Regions from separate parts of the Homo sapiens genome. Here regions 1 and 3 are each linked to region 2. The links are contacts of gene promoters, found by promoter capture Hi-C in human tissues and cell types (Jung and others, 2019). All regions are on one chromosome and are shown on one strand. The core of a region is centred on a gene start or on the middle of the fragment in contact, and the rest is flanking DNA. Distances in the headings are between cores, read along the strand shown.

Region 1 (4,425 bases), core at 589-3,088, 150 kb before region 2:
ACAACACTGCCTCTCCACATTCATTCTTCAAGTTCCTGTCTTGGCTGGGTCTGTTTATTCTTACGGGGGTGAAACTGTAGCCGCGGCTGTGTCAGGGCCTGCTGTGTGTCAAGCTATAAAATAAACCCTTGGCAGGGCGCGGTGGCTCACGCCTGTAATCCCAGCACTTTGAGAGGCTAAGGTGGGTAGATCACCTGAGGTCAGGAGTTCGAGACCAGCGTGGCCAACATGGTGAAACTCCGTCTCTACTAAAAATACAAAAATTAGCCGGGCATGGTGGCATGTGCCTATAATCCCAGCTACTCAGGAGGCTGCGGCAGGAGAATCGCTTGAACTTGGGAGGCGGAGGTTGCAGTGAGCTGAGATCGCACCACTGCACTCCAGCCTGGGCGACAGAGTGAGACCCTGTCTCAAAAAAAAAAAAATTAAAAATTAAAGGCTCGACATCCTGCATCTCCCCAGGGTTGCCTTCTCTCCAGCCCCGGGGGCCCTGCAGTCCCTCCATCCCCCCTGCTGGATTCCTGTTGTCCCTCAGGGCCTTGATCAATGGCCCTCACTTCTCCTCTCTCCTCTGTCTCAGTGAGGATGAGGCTGGCCCATGGATCCTGCTCTCCGATGACAAGGGAGACCATCCCCCACCCCCGGAGTCCAAAATACAGAGTTTGTATGTTGGGGAAAGGGGAAAGGCAAGAGTGTGGGGAGGGAGGAAGGGCCCTGGCTGGTCCTTCTCAGGATCCCCTTTCCCGCTTCTCTGCCCGTCACCCTGCTGTGCTTGGCTCTAAGCACACCGTCCCCTCCTGCTTCTCTGGCCCTGGCCCCCATCACCTTCACACTCCCTCAGGCTGCCCTTTCTTCCCCCTCTCCCCTTTTCTCACCATCCCCTGCCCTCACCCATATCCTTGACCTCTCTGGCTTCCTGGCTCAAAGTGCCTCTGGCTGTCTCTCTCCAGCTTTGGCCTATGGTATCGGGGTAAAGCTGAATCCTCTGAGGATGAGACCAGCAGCCCTGCACCCAGCAAGCTAGGGGGAGAAGAGGAGGCCCAACCACAGTCTCCAGCTCCTGATCCGCCCTGTTCTGCCCTCCACGAACACCTTTGTCTGGGGGCCTCAGCCGCCCCAGAGGCCTGACTTAGGGGTCTGGCTGTGGAAGGATGTGTGGCCTCAAATGAGGACAGGGCTCCCGCCTTCACAGCCCTCGCCAGGGGTCTGCCCCAATCCTGGCCTGCATCAGGGCAGGACGGGGTCTCAGCCCGCCTCCCTCTCTACGTCTCTGTACCGAGCCTCTGGGGCCAGATATAAGAGTGCCTCTCTGAGTCTCAGTTTCCCCATCCATGAAATGAGAGCTGACTGCCTAGCTCCCAGGGCTTTGTGCAGACGGCCTGAGCTCATGTAATAAAGAACTGCCCGTAATACACAGAAACTGTTCCTCGCCTGTCTGTCCATGTCTGTGCCACCTCCCAACCCTGCCAGGAGCAGAGGCAGGCTGAGGGGTCCTCGCTGGTCTCCTTGCTCAGTCACTGGGTGGGGTGGCTTCTTGCAGCTCAGGCCTTGCTTTGGGAGTGTGGCCTGATGGAAAGCCGTGGCTCCCAGCCTCAGTCCACCCCCTTCCCTGGCCCCGGCACCCAGGGACCTGCAACTTCATTCTTCTGGCCCTTCCAGGCCCAGGCCAGTCAGCCCTGCCATTGCCTTTCTTTCCCTTTCTTTTTTTGAGTGTCAGTCTTTCCAGCCACCCCCTCCCTCTCAGGGAGGTGCCTCGTGGCAGCCCGCCCCTCCGGCCTGGTTTCCTCAGGAAAAGCCCTGAGAGGAAGCAGGGAGGGGGTTGGGAGCTGTGGGGGCCAGACGAACCCGAGCGCTCCCACCGAGCTGCCTGCCATGGGGCTGGGGCTGCTGCTCCCGCTGCTGCTGCTCTGGACTCGGGGGACTCAGGGGTCCGAGCTGGACCCCAAAGGGCAGCACGTCTGTGTGGCCAGCAGGTGGGTCTCGTGGGAGTCTGATGCGTGTGGCCAGCAGGTGGGTCTCGTGGGAGTCTGATGCGGGTGGCTGAACCGGTGTTGAGGCCGTTAGGGGAAGGAGGAGACTAGGAAGGGGGCTTAGGCTGAAAGGAAGGGACTGCTGATGGCGGTCTGGCAGGTAGTGGCCAGCCAGGGCAGATGGTGGAAGGGTCAGGGAAGGAGAGGGGAGGGGCTGGGGACCCTAGCTGTAAAGATCCATTAGGCCTCCCCAGGGGGCTAAGGCAGCCTCCCCCACTGCAGCCAGAGACAGTGATCCACCTTCCTCAGGGCCAGGCTGCACCCCCCACCATGTCCGGCTGACCCCTTTTTGCCCCACAGCCCCTCTGCTGAGCTGCAGTGCTGCGCAGGCTGGAGGCAGAAGGATCAAGAATGCACCATCCGTGAGTAGCCAGGACAGACCCTCAGCCAAGGAGAAGGGAGGCCGTAGCCCAGTGACAACCCTTCCTTCCTACCCCATGGGGCCTGCCCCTCCTGATACCAGGAGTCAGGGTTTCTCCTGTGACGCACCCCCAGGCCTGAAGGGGCACCTCTTGAGGAGGCATGGCCCCTGGAGCCAGTGAGAGGGCAGGGGTGTCCCCTGGTCCTGCTCCCGTCTTTCCAACCTGGGTGGGGTGTCTTTCAGCCATCTGTGAGGGGCCGGACGCCTGCCAGAAAGACGAGGTGTGTGTGAAGCCGGGCCTCTGTCGATGCAAGCCTGGATTCTTTGGGGCCCACTGCAGCTCCCGTGAGTCTCAAGGGCCAGATGAAGTTGCTGGGCAGAGCTGGGTACGGGGGCAGTGGTGTGGGAGCAGGCGAGGCAGGTAGCCATGCAGCCTCAGGACAGCAGGGCCAGAATCCCCCCCAGCTTCACTGAGGAATTGCGGTCCAGAGACAGGAAGTGACACACACTCCCGGGAGATGACCTGAGTCACCGGGTTTTTACCCACATCCACAAAGCACTGCCCACCTGAGCATCTTCCTCTTCCACTTCTCAGAAAACCTGTGATTCCCCTTCATTGTAAAATGAGTGTATTACTTGCCTTTCCCACATATACCTTATACATGGGCAGTGGATGGAAGGGGGCCCCTGGCTGGGCTCTCTGCCCTCTCTGGCAGAAAGAGAGGGAAGGGAAAGGGGTTGGGAAGCAGGAGAGCCAGAGGGTGGGCATCAGGAATCAAGGAATCACTAGGGGAAAGGTGGCTTCTCCCGACACCCTGGCGGGCAGTATCCAGGCCTGAGATCAGGAGAAAGCCAGCTCTCCTCCAGCCCAGCAGAGATCCATCTCGGCAGGGAGGAGCAGGCATGGAGGAAGGCCCACCAACCTCGGTGCCACGCTCTGGGCAAGTCCCCTGCCCACTCAGGATCTCTGAGTGTGTTCTGGAATGTGAAGTGGCAGGCTGAGCCTCCCACTAATGGCTAAGGGTTTTCTGTAGGTCAGAGCGGAGCAGGAAGTGAGTGTTGCCCAGGACAGGCTGCCGGATGTTCTGAGGGTCTGTCCCCGGCTCTTGGAGGATGGGCCCAGCGCCCCTTTTCCTTGAGGAAGGGGACGCAGGGTAAGGGTCTGCGCGCGGCCCTGAGCCCGCTGACCCCTCCCGTCCCCACCCCCGCAGGCTGCCCGGGCCAGTACTGGGGCCCCGACTGCCGTGAGAGCTGCCCCTGCCACCCGCACGGCCAGTGCGAGCCAGCCACGGGCGCGTGCCAGTGCCAGGCCGACCGCTGGGGAGCCCGCTGCGAGTTCCCGTGCGCCTGCGGCCCCCACGGGCGCTGCGACCCCGCGACCGGCGTGTGCCACTGCGAACCCGGCTGGTGGTCGTCCACGTGCCGCCGCCCGTGCCAGTGCAACACCGCGGCGGCGCGCTGCGAGCAGGCCACGGGCGCCTGCGTGTGCAAGCCGGGCTGGTGGGGGCGCCGCTGCAGCTTCCGCTGCAACTGCCACGGCTCCCCGTGCGAGCAGGACTCCGGCCGCTGCGCCTGCCGGCCGGGCTGGTGGGGTCCCGAATGCCAGCAGCAGTGCGAGTGTGTGCGGGGCCGCTGCAGCGCCGCCTCCGGCGAGTGCACCTGCCCGCCCGGCTTCCGCGGAGCGCGCTGCGAGCTGCCCTGCCCGGCAGGCAGCCACGGGGTGCAGTGCGCACACAGGTGAGCGGGCGGGGCGGGGACAGGTGGGCTGGCGGGGCGGGGGCGGACACAAGTGAGCAGGCGGGGCGGGGCGGAGACAGGGGGGCGGGGCGGAGACAGGGGGCGGGGCGAAGACAGGTGGGCGGGGCGGACACCGGTGGGCGGGGCGGACACCGGTGGGCGGGGCGGGCACCGGTGGGCGGGGCGGACACCGGTGGGCGGGGAGGGGGCGGGGTGGAAACTGGTGAGCGGGCAGGGTGGGGGCGGGGCGGGCACAGGTGAGCGGTCGGGGGAGGGGGCGGAGGCGGACACAGGTGA
Region 2 (4,638 bases), core at 1,413-3,912:
GTCCCCGTGAGGAGTGAGCAGAGGGTCTGGGATTTCTGCTTTCAGCAAAAGCAGTCTGACTCAGTGGGCAGAATGGAGGGGCCCCTCTAGCCAGGCTCTTACGCCATGGTTATGAGCAGGTTGATGAGGGTCCTTCGGCCAGCACAACCTTCCTCCCTACTCACGGCATGGAGTCTGACTGCATGGAAGTTCCAGATCCTGACAGAGAGAACTGGGAAGGATCCAGGTTCGCTTCCGTTGGTAGCTTGAGTCCCATGCCTCCACCCTGCCATCTGAGGAAGGGGTGACAAGTGGTCAAGGAGCTGTGGCCACAGACTTTTCCAGGGTGGTCCTTGGCAGGTGAGGTGCGTCTGTGCCACCCTTGTCAGGAGCCATTGACGACGGGCCCCCCCTGGACCCCCCGGGACCTCAGAGTGGGGGCAGGCAGAAGGGAGAACCAGCTCAAGACATTTTGGAGGATCTGGCCCTGGGGTTCTTCAGAGAACACCCTCTAGGGGCTTTGGGGACATGGCCTGTCCCCACATCCAGCACTTGCCTCCGCCATGGTCACTCGGCAGCCCTTTTCCCAGGAGAAGACACCTCTGGGAGCCTGCTCAGTGCTTGTCCTGCCATCCTGTGTCCTGGGACTGAGGGTTACTCCAGTTGCTCTGTGTTGCATACTCTCCCCCGCAAGCCTGTGTATGAAGAATTGTCCCCTGGCTTCCAGCAGGCCATGGCTGGCTGTTTTGTGACTGTTACATTGTGCAGGGGTAATTATTAGCGTGGCTTTTACACTTGCGTGTGACTGATGATTGGGGGGTGGGGGTACGGTGATGGGCCTGGGACTAGCTGTAGATTCCAGGAACAGGGACCCTGTAGATCCCAACTAGACTTCTGTGTCTGAGATTTGCAGAAGTGGCCAGGACTGGGGCTAGGATGAGGTTCTAGAATGGTGAGCCTCTGGGGCCCTAACCAGGTGGAGCATGCCATCTATGCCGGTGGCCGCTTAATGTACTCTGTTAAGTCAAATGAGCTCTTGTTCATCCCTCCTGACCCGCTGCTCTGCATACCCTGGTGTTGAGCCTTCTGCCTGCGTTAACCAGTCCAGAATGCCACCATCTTCTCTTTCTGCCCCACTTCTCCTCAGCCCCTTCTTGCTGAGTTTTCCCCCATGGTAACCTATCCCTGCCCCCAACACATATACCTAGGGACCTCCAAAGCCCTCACTTGCCCACCTGTTCCTTCTCACATGCACAGCCATCACGAGGGTTACTGCATGGCACCCTTCATTGGGCAGATGGGAAAGCCAAGGCTCAGAGAAGTGGTACAGTCTCTTCAAAGTTCCAGGCACCTGTGGTTTCCCACAGGACCAGAAACAGGAATGGGGTCTGAACCCACCCGCAGAGCGGTCTCAGTAGTCTGTAAAATACAGATGATGTCCCTATTCTCAAGATTACTGTGGGAGAACAATTGCAGAAAGTGTATCGCACTAGACCCGCCTCCCCGTTCTGATTAATGCGGCCCCGGGGCTTGACCCCAGGGGTCCCCCCACATGCTCACCTCCCCCGTGGTGAACTGAGGTCGCCACACACCCAGCCTCCTGTGTGGGAGGGGTGAGCCCAGCAGTGATTGAGAGGCGGAAAGGGGAATGGGGGGTGCTCTCCGTCCTCTGGGCCCCAGTCAGGATATGGCCGTTCTGGGTCCACCCCGACCCACTGGGTGGAAACAGGAAATAAGTGAGACCTGGTGTGCACTGGGTCTACGCCTGGCTCCACGGCTGATAAGGGCCATTGTGTGGCCGCCGGGGATGAGCCTGCTCTGGATAGATGTGCTTCCCGGAGGAAGGAAGGAAGGCTTGCTAGCTTTTCCGGGGCGGGGGAAGCTGTGGGGAGAGAGAAGGGTGCCGGGGGGAAGGCCCCTGCCTATGGGGCTGTCGGTGCCAGCACACACCCACGGGACTCAGCCCTTCCTATGCCAGCCTCTCCCTCTGGAAAGGTCTGTTTCCCCTATCCACTTCCCTGTTCTTACTTCCTATAAGGAATGGCTGGAGACTGGAGGGCTCAGTCTCAGGCCAGGAAAGTGTCAGCTGTGATTTAGCAACAATAAAAATAGAAAAGCAGGAACATCAGGGGTGGGGGTCACCTGGGGGTACTGTTGAAACGCAAGGGATGAACAGGGCTAGAGGTTGCCCACACCCAGGGAACCCAGGAACTAACCTCACAAGCTCTGAGGCTCAGAGGAGGGTAAGCCAAGAGCTTCCTCACAGCGGGACAGCCCCCTGTCCGGGCCCTGCATGACCAGGCCCCAGCAGCCCTGGTCTCTCAAACTCATGGTGGGGGCTCACCTGCTGTGGGGGGCAGCCCCGTTGAGGGGATGTGCAGGAAAGCCAGTGCCTACTAACGGGTCCTCTTGGCCTAGGGGAGGGCATGCCGTCTGGTTTGGGGAGTGGGCCCCGTGCTCTCTAGGTGGTACCAGAGAGTGGGCAGGAGGAGGGGCCCAGCCATAGAGCTGCCGTGGGGATGGGGGGAAGGGGAAAGGCGTCCTAGCCTTTGACCTGGAGCCCAGGGTCCCCCATGGGTGGCTGCATCGGCTCCTCTGGTTACCTGGGACAACAGGCATTTCCTCCATCCCCAGCCCCTCCTCTTCCTGCTCCAACCATCCGGGCCAAGAGGCCTCCCAGTCAGACCTGGACGGCTCCAGCCGTGTCCTGAGGAGCTGGACCAGCCACATCCCCTGGGGCTGCAGTTGAAGCAGAACCAAGTGGCCATCCCGGCGTTAGACCGTAGGTTCCTGGTCCCGGAGTGGTCGGAGCCCGCCAGTGGGCAGGCAGCTCTTGCTCACAGGCCGCGGTGCCCAGGCCGCTGGCTCTCCGCAGGGCGGAATGGCGCTGCAAGTGGAGCTGGTACCCACCGGGGAGATCATCCGCGTGGTTCATCCCCACAGGCCCTGCAAGCTTGTAAGCTGGGATGCTCTGGGCTGGGAGGAGGGTGGGAGCGTCTCCCCAAGGCCGGGCAGCCCCTCTCAGGCGAGCCCTCGGGCAAGAGCTGAGCAGCGGGGAGGGGTTCCGATCCTTGGCGGGGCCAGAACAGACTGAACAAGACGGGGTGAGTGGAAGAGTAAGGATGCAAGGGCCACTAGCAGCAGGATTTTTGGAAGTGGAGGTCTGGGCTTGACTCTTCCCCGGCTTCCCGAACCTCAGTGGGCAGAACCGTGAATACTGGGCACAAAAGGCAAGTGCCGGCTGCTGTGAGGTCGAAGGACCAGGGCATGGAAGCTCCAGGCTCAGTCAACGCCCCGCTCCTCTCCAGTCCGCAGGGCTGGGACCGCCCAAGACTCAGAACAGAAGGACGGTGTGGGAGGTGGGTGAAGGGTCACGGGTGGGTAGAAACGGGGGAGCGCGGCCCTGGCCCGGCCCGCAGGAAGGGGCTGGAGATGCAAAGGGCCCGGAGGAGGGAGAAAGTCGGGCGCCCCCACGCCCCCAGCAGCGCGGCGGGGAGCCGGGTCTTCGGCCGGAGGGGCGCGCGCGTGTTCGCTGTGGCCCCGGGAACGGGCCGAGGCGGGGGCCGCACGCACCGAGGCTTCGCGGACGCGGCCGGGGCTGAGGCGGGGCGGGGCGGGGCCGGAGGGTGCGCGGCCCTGCCCGGGATGACGACAGGCTGCGGCCCGGCCCCCGGCGGGCCCTGGGCGGGGAGAGTGCGCCCGGGCCGCGGATCCCCAAGCCCGCCACGCCGCCCAGCCCGGCCCCGCCCGCGCCGGAAGAGCCACGCCGGTGGGTACTCGGGGCGCGGGGACGGCGGCCGCGGGGGGCGGGTGTGGGGAGCGGGCGGCCGGGCCGGGAGCCGCCGTGCACGAGGCAGGGGTCACGGCCGGGGATCGCTGGGGCCGAAGAACGGCCGCGTGGACCCGTGCGGGGGGGGGGGGTCCCACGACCCGGAGGCGCCGGCGCAGCCTGGTGGAGACTTAGATTTACCTGCGGGGAGCGGGAGGCGGGGAAGAGCGGCCTGGGCTGCAGGACCCAGGACCCTGCGCGCCCTTCGGGCCCCGCCCGCAGCCCTGCTCCGCCTCTGGGTTCCGGAGAAGCCGCCTAAACCCGCCCCTTCCCGTTCTCCGCCCCTGGGGCCCAGCGCGCCCCGAGTGTGACGGGCGGGGGGCTCCGGGGTGGCCGGAGAAGGAGGATGGCCACGCGGCCCTCAGTCCTCACGCTCCGGCCTCCCGCGCACACGCCTGGCTCTGAGATTCATTCATTCATCCAGGGGTCCGGGAAGGGGTGACTGAGCCCCACCGTGTGCCTCGCTGCGTGTAGGGAGTGGGAGCCGTCTCCTGGGAGGGACTGACAAGGAAACAGCTGATTCCTGCGGGGTGCGATAAGGAGGCGCTGCGTGTTTGGGAGAATCAGGAAGGGGTTCTGGAGGAGGTGACACCTGAGCCGAGTCTCAGTGAGGTGGGCAGGGAGAGTGCCCCGGGCTGGGGAAGCCGCAGGTGCAGGCACTGAAGCTTGGACTGGCTGGCGACGGTGCGAAGGCCCCCTCCTGGGGGGAGGGGTGGGGGGAGAGGGGACTGGAGCGGGCCATCTGGCACATCGGAATGCAGGAGCAGTGGGGTAAACTGGGGACAGCAGGGGGGTCTCGGGAGTTCATAGGCAGGGTCCTGGTAAGCAGC
Region 3 (4,432 bases), core at 1,202-3,701, 240 kb before region 2:
CTCTTAGAACCCACTGCTGACTCTGGGGCAAGGGCAGAGAATGGGGCCTCCCAAGGGAGGAGACAGCCACGAAGACTGTGATGGGGAACGTGATGGGGCAGTACCCAACAGGCAGGAGAAGGGCACGTAGATTGTGTATGCCATCTCCAGGGTGAACACCTTCTGCAGCTCGTCCAGCAGGGCGGGGTCCACGGGCCGCTGCTGCCCATCAGAGAAGACCACCTGTGGCAGCTGGCCCTCACCACGGCCCGCAGGGTCCAGCTTCAGATCCTATGAGCAAGACACCCAGGGGGTCAGCCGGGTCCACAGCTCCCACCCTGGCCCACCCTGGTCCTCGCCACGGCCCGCGGAGTCCAGCTTCAGATCCTATGAGCAAGATGCCCAGGGGGTCACCCAGGTCCACAGCCCCCGCCCCAGCCCGCCCTGGCCCAGCAGATCTGCCCACCTGTTGCCGAAGCTCATGCAGCTGAGAGAAGACCTGGAAAAAGGTGGCCACGGGCTCGCTCAGGTGCTGCTGGACCATCTCCTGTCCAATGCGCAGGCAGATGAGGGCGATGAGGCTGATGGTTTTCACACACAGGATGGTCCGAGCCTGGGCCCCACTTGGGAACCTGGAAACAGAGCTCATGAGCTCCAGCCCGCCGTTCTGCAGGACTTGACCAGAATCTAGCAAAATCTTTATTTATTTTTATTTTTATTGAGATGGAGTCTTGCTCTGTCATCCAGGCTGGAGTGCAGTGGTGCGATCTCGGCTCACTGCAACCTCTGCCTCCCGGGTTCAAGCGATTCTCCTGCCTCAGTCTCCCGAGTAGCTGGGACTACAGGCATGAGCCACCATACCCGGCTAATTTTTTTTGTATTTTTAGTAGAGACAGGGTTTTGCCATATTGGCCAGGCTGGTCTCGAACTCCTGACCTCAAGCGATCCACCCACCTTGGCCTCCCAAAGTGCTGGGATTACAGGCATGAGCCACAGCACCCAGCATATATATATACTTTTTTTTTTTTTTGAGACAGAGTCTTGCTCTGTCGCCTAGGCTGCAGTACAATGGCGTGATCTCAGCTCACTGCAACCTCCGCTTCCTGGGTTCAAGCAATTCTCCCGCCTCAGCCTCCTGAGAACCTGGGATTGCAGCCTCCCGAGAACCTGGGATTGCAGGCACCTGCTGCCATGCCCAGCGAAGATTTTGTATTTTTAGTGGAGACGGGGTTTCACCATGTTGGCCAGGTGGGTCTCAAACTCCTGACCTCGTGATCCACCCGCCTTGGCCCCCCAAAGTGCTGGGATTACAGGGGTGAGACACCACGCTCGGCCTTTATATATATTTTTAGAGAGGGGGTCTCATTTTGTTGCCCAGGCTGGTCTTGAACTCCTGGGCTCAAGCAATCTTCCCGCCTCAGCCTCTCAAAGTGCTGGGATTACAGGCATGAGCCACCGTGCCCGGACATATCAAAAGCTTTAAATGAAAGAGCTCCAAGACCAACTGGTCCAAACCAGATGAGGAAACTGAGGCACAGGAAAAGGGTGTGGTTTGCTCAGGGTCACACAGCCGGGATCAAAACCAGGACTCTTGACACCCAGTCCAGTGTTACGTCCTCTCCCCTGAGCTTCCCACCCCCTCCTGGGCAGCCCCTCCGCTGGGCCGGTCCCCCTACATCAGCTGGGGCAGAGGCCTACCCCGTGACGAGGGAGGTGAGGAAGCTGAGCACGGGCAGCAGGACCTCATGGCTGATCCGGGGCAGGATGTCCATGAGTGTGGTGTCTGAGAGGTACACGATGATCTTCTGAGTCAGCGTCACCGCGGCCAGCAGCCCCGCCTCCTTACGGCTGTTCAGTCGGCTGGGGCCTGAGGCACTCCCTGGGGCCACCTAGAGCCACCGAGCAGATGAGGGCCGGGCAGCCCCACAGACCCCCTGGCACCAAGAGAGCCCGGGCCGGCCCTCAGGTCCTCAGCCTTCCCAGCCCCGGGCCTGCCAAACCAGCGACTGACCAGGTAGCTGATGTAGGGCAGGTACTGGTAGGTGAGGACAGGCTCCCCATACAGGCGGGCGATGTGGAGGAGGCAGCTGAGCACAGGCCCTGACACGATGTCGCCCAGGACCGGCCTCTTCTGGTAGATGTTGCCGGCGCTCAGCGGTGGGCTCTCGCCACTGCTCACTGTGAACTGCTGCCGAGTGGGTCCTGCCACGGAAGGGCCAGCAGCCCTGAGTCGCCAGTGGAGGGCCGGGGGTAGCCTGGCCCTGCAGGGCTGTGCTGGCCGCTTGAGCTCACTCTAGCTGGGGGCCCAGCCTGGCCCTACCCAAGGCTGGCACTTAGACTGGGACCCAGCACCTGGCCGGGGGGTGGTTTGAGGGAGGGGTGGGAAGGATCCCCGCCGGAGAGCGCTGAAGCTAGGCAGAGGGCCTGGGAGAAAGCCTCATCTCCAGCACTGACCGCAGGCCTCCTTACCAACATAACAAGACGTCAGCAGGCGGAGCAGGTTCCGGGCCACGTGGCGAGAGGCCACTGTGGGGCCGAGCTTGGCAGACAGCCAGCGGACCATCTTGCAGGCTGTATCTGCGGGGTGGGAGCAGGCCCTGAGCTCCTCAGATAACAGGGGCTCATCACCCCTCCCACCCCACCCCACGGCACCCCACTCAACCACCTGCGGCTGCAGCTCTGCCAAGAGCCCAGCCCGGGCCGGCTGTCCCACACCACCCCCTCCACGTAACAGCGGCAGAGGTGCCCAGGCCCTGGCCTGTGGGACTCTGGCTGCCGCAGGTTCCTCTCCACAGGCACGACCCGCAGGAAGTTAGCCTGCCCGTGGGTCTTCTGAAACTCCTTAACAAGGCCTGGCCCGGCCCTGGCCACCTTCCCTCTGGCCTCTCTTCCCTCCACTCCCTCGGTCTCGCCATAACGGCCTTTCCCTGCTTCTCTTCTTCTTCTTCTTCTTTTTTTTTTTTTTTGAGACAGAGTCTCGCACTGTTGCCCAGGCTGGAGTGCAATGGCACAATCTCAGTTCATTGCAACCTCCACCTTCCACCGCCCTGACTCTCCTCCTTGAACCTCCGGGTTCAAGCGATTCTCCTGCCTCAGCCTTCCAAATAGCTGAGATTACAGGCACCCTCCACCATGCCCAGCTAAGTTTTTGTATTTTTAGTAGAGATGGGGTTTCACCATATTGGCCAGGATGGTCTCAATCTCCTGACCTTGTGATCCATCCGCCTCAGCCTCCCAAAGTGCTGGGATTACAGGCGTGAAGCACCGCGCCCGGTCCCCCGCTTCTCTTCTTTAATGGAACATGACAGCCTCAGAGCCTCACACATGCTGTTCCCTCAGCCTTCAGACTTTCTTTTTGCCCATTTTTGTCTACCTTCTTCCTACTCCTCCTTGAACCTCAACTGTCTCTCCTTTTAAGGAAGCCTGCTCTGACCCTTGAAAACTAGATGTAAAAGCACCATTTTTTTTTTCTTTTTTGAGACGGAGTCCCGCTCTGTTGCCCAAGCTGCAGTGCAGTGGTGTGATCTCAGCTCACTGCAACCTCCACCTCCTGGGTTCAAGTAATTCTCCTGCCTCAGCCTCCTGAATAGCTGGGATTACAGGTGCCCGCCACCACGCCTGGCTAATTTTTGTATTTTTAGTAGAGATGGGGTTTCACCATGTTGGCCAGGCTGGTCTCGAACTCCTAACCTCAAGTGATCCTCCTGCCTCGGCCTCCCAAAGTGCTGGGATTAGAGGCGTGAGCCACGGCGCCCGGCCGAAAAGCTCCATGTTGCACTCCCTCCTAGGAATGCAGCCATGTTCTTTATCGCACTAACATAATACACTTGCTTAAGACTGTCTGCACTGCGGCATCTCGTCTGCTGGGTGTGAGCTCTGTGAAGGCAGGCCTACATTTGTGTTGCCGGTGGTCCTGGCTCGATCCACTGCTTGGCACAGAGTAGGTGCTCTGCCAGTGTGCAGGGAGAAGCAGGAGCTGTTTTTTTGTTTTGTTTTGTTTTTTTGAGATGGAGTCTCGCTCTGTCGCCCAGGCTGGAGTGCAGTGGTGCGATCTCGGCTCACTGCAAGCTCCGCCTCCCGGGTTCACGCCATTCTCCTGCCTCAGCCTTCCGAGTAGCTGGGACTACAGGTGCCTGCCCCCACGCCCGGCTATTTTTTTGTATTTTTAGTAGAGACGGGGTTTCACCTTGTTATTAGGATGGTCTCGATCTCCTGACCTTGTGATCCGCCCGCCTCAGCCTCCCAAAGTGCTGGGAATACAGGCGTGAACCACTGTGCTCGGCCAGCAGGAGGTGTTTTTGACCAACACCTCCCAGACCTGGGAACTTACCAAGGAGGATCTTCTGTTCTTTGCCTTCTGACTGCTCAGGCAGTGCCTCCTCCTCTTCTTCTCCATCTCCCCCACTGCCGCCGGCCACAACCGTCTCCATGGACAGCACCGTGTCAGACAGAG

What was found. The method cuts DNA at HindIII sites, captures the fragments that hold promoters and counts their contacts. A contact is called where the count stands out against the background at its distance.
Region 1: the fragment with the promoter of SCARF1 here is called in contact with the fragment with the promoter of MYO1C in region 2 in 1 of the 25 tissues and cell types used here (pancreas).
Region 3: a fragment that was not itself captured here is called in contact with the fragment with the promoter of MYO1C in region 2 in 1 of the 25 tissues and cell types used here (dorsolateral prefrontal cortex).

The regions. Positions count from the first base shown.
Region 1 is chr17:1,643,145-1,647,569 of GRCh38, reverse strand. SCARF1 (scavenger receptor class F member 1) reads left to right here and starts at 1,838. Exons shown (of 11, transcript NM_003693.4): 1 at 1,838-1,973; 2 at 2,331-2,392; 3 at 2,635-2,736; 4 at 3,603-4,128. The coding sequence starts at 1,873. It overlaps RILP (Rab interacting lysosomal protein), which reads left to right. Exons shown (of 8, transcript NM_031430.3): 7 at 581-664; 8 at 951-1,420. The coding sequence ends at 1,128. The HindIII fragment of the contact is 19,188 bases long and covers 1-4,425 here.
Region 2 is chr17:1,490,710-1,495,347 of GRCh38, reverse strand. MYO1C (myosin IC) reads left to right here and starts at 2,662. Exons shown (of 32, transcript NM_001080779.2): 1 at 2,662-2,935. The coding sequence starts at 2,861. LOC105371483 (a long non-coding RNA gene) reads right to left here and starts at 2,561. Exons shown (of 2, transcript XR_934145.4): 1 at 1,723-2,561; 2 at 654-1,398. INPP5K (inositol polyphosphate-5-phosphatase K) reads left to right here. Exons shown (of 12, transcript NM_016532.4): 12 at 1-771. RefSeq lists silencers at 3,407-3,806, 3,887-4,326 and an enhancer at 3,611-4,330. The HindIII fragment of the contact is 10,403 bases long and covers 1-3,703 here.
Region 3 is chr17:1,728,504-1,732,935 of GRCh38, reverse strand. It overlaps WDR81 (WD repeat domain 81), which reads right to left. Exons shown (of 10, transcript NM_001163809.2): 1 at 4,310-4,432; 2 at 2,449-2,556; 3 at 1,991-2,181; 4 at 1,678-1,868; 5 at 446-611; 6 at 105-270. Among named protein-coding and RNA genes, the nearest start is that of WDR81, 6.0 kb to the right of the region's middle. The HindIII fragment of the contact is 3,649 bases long and covers 627-4,275 here.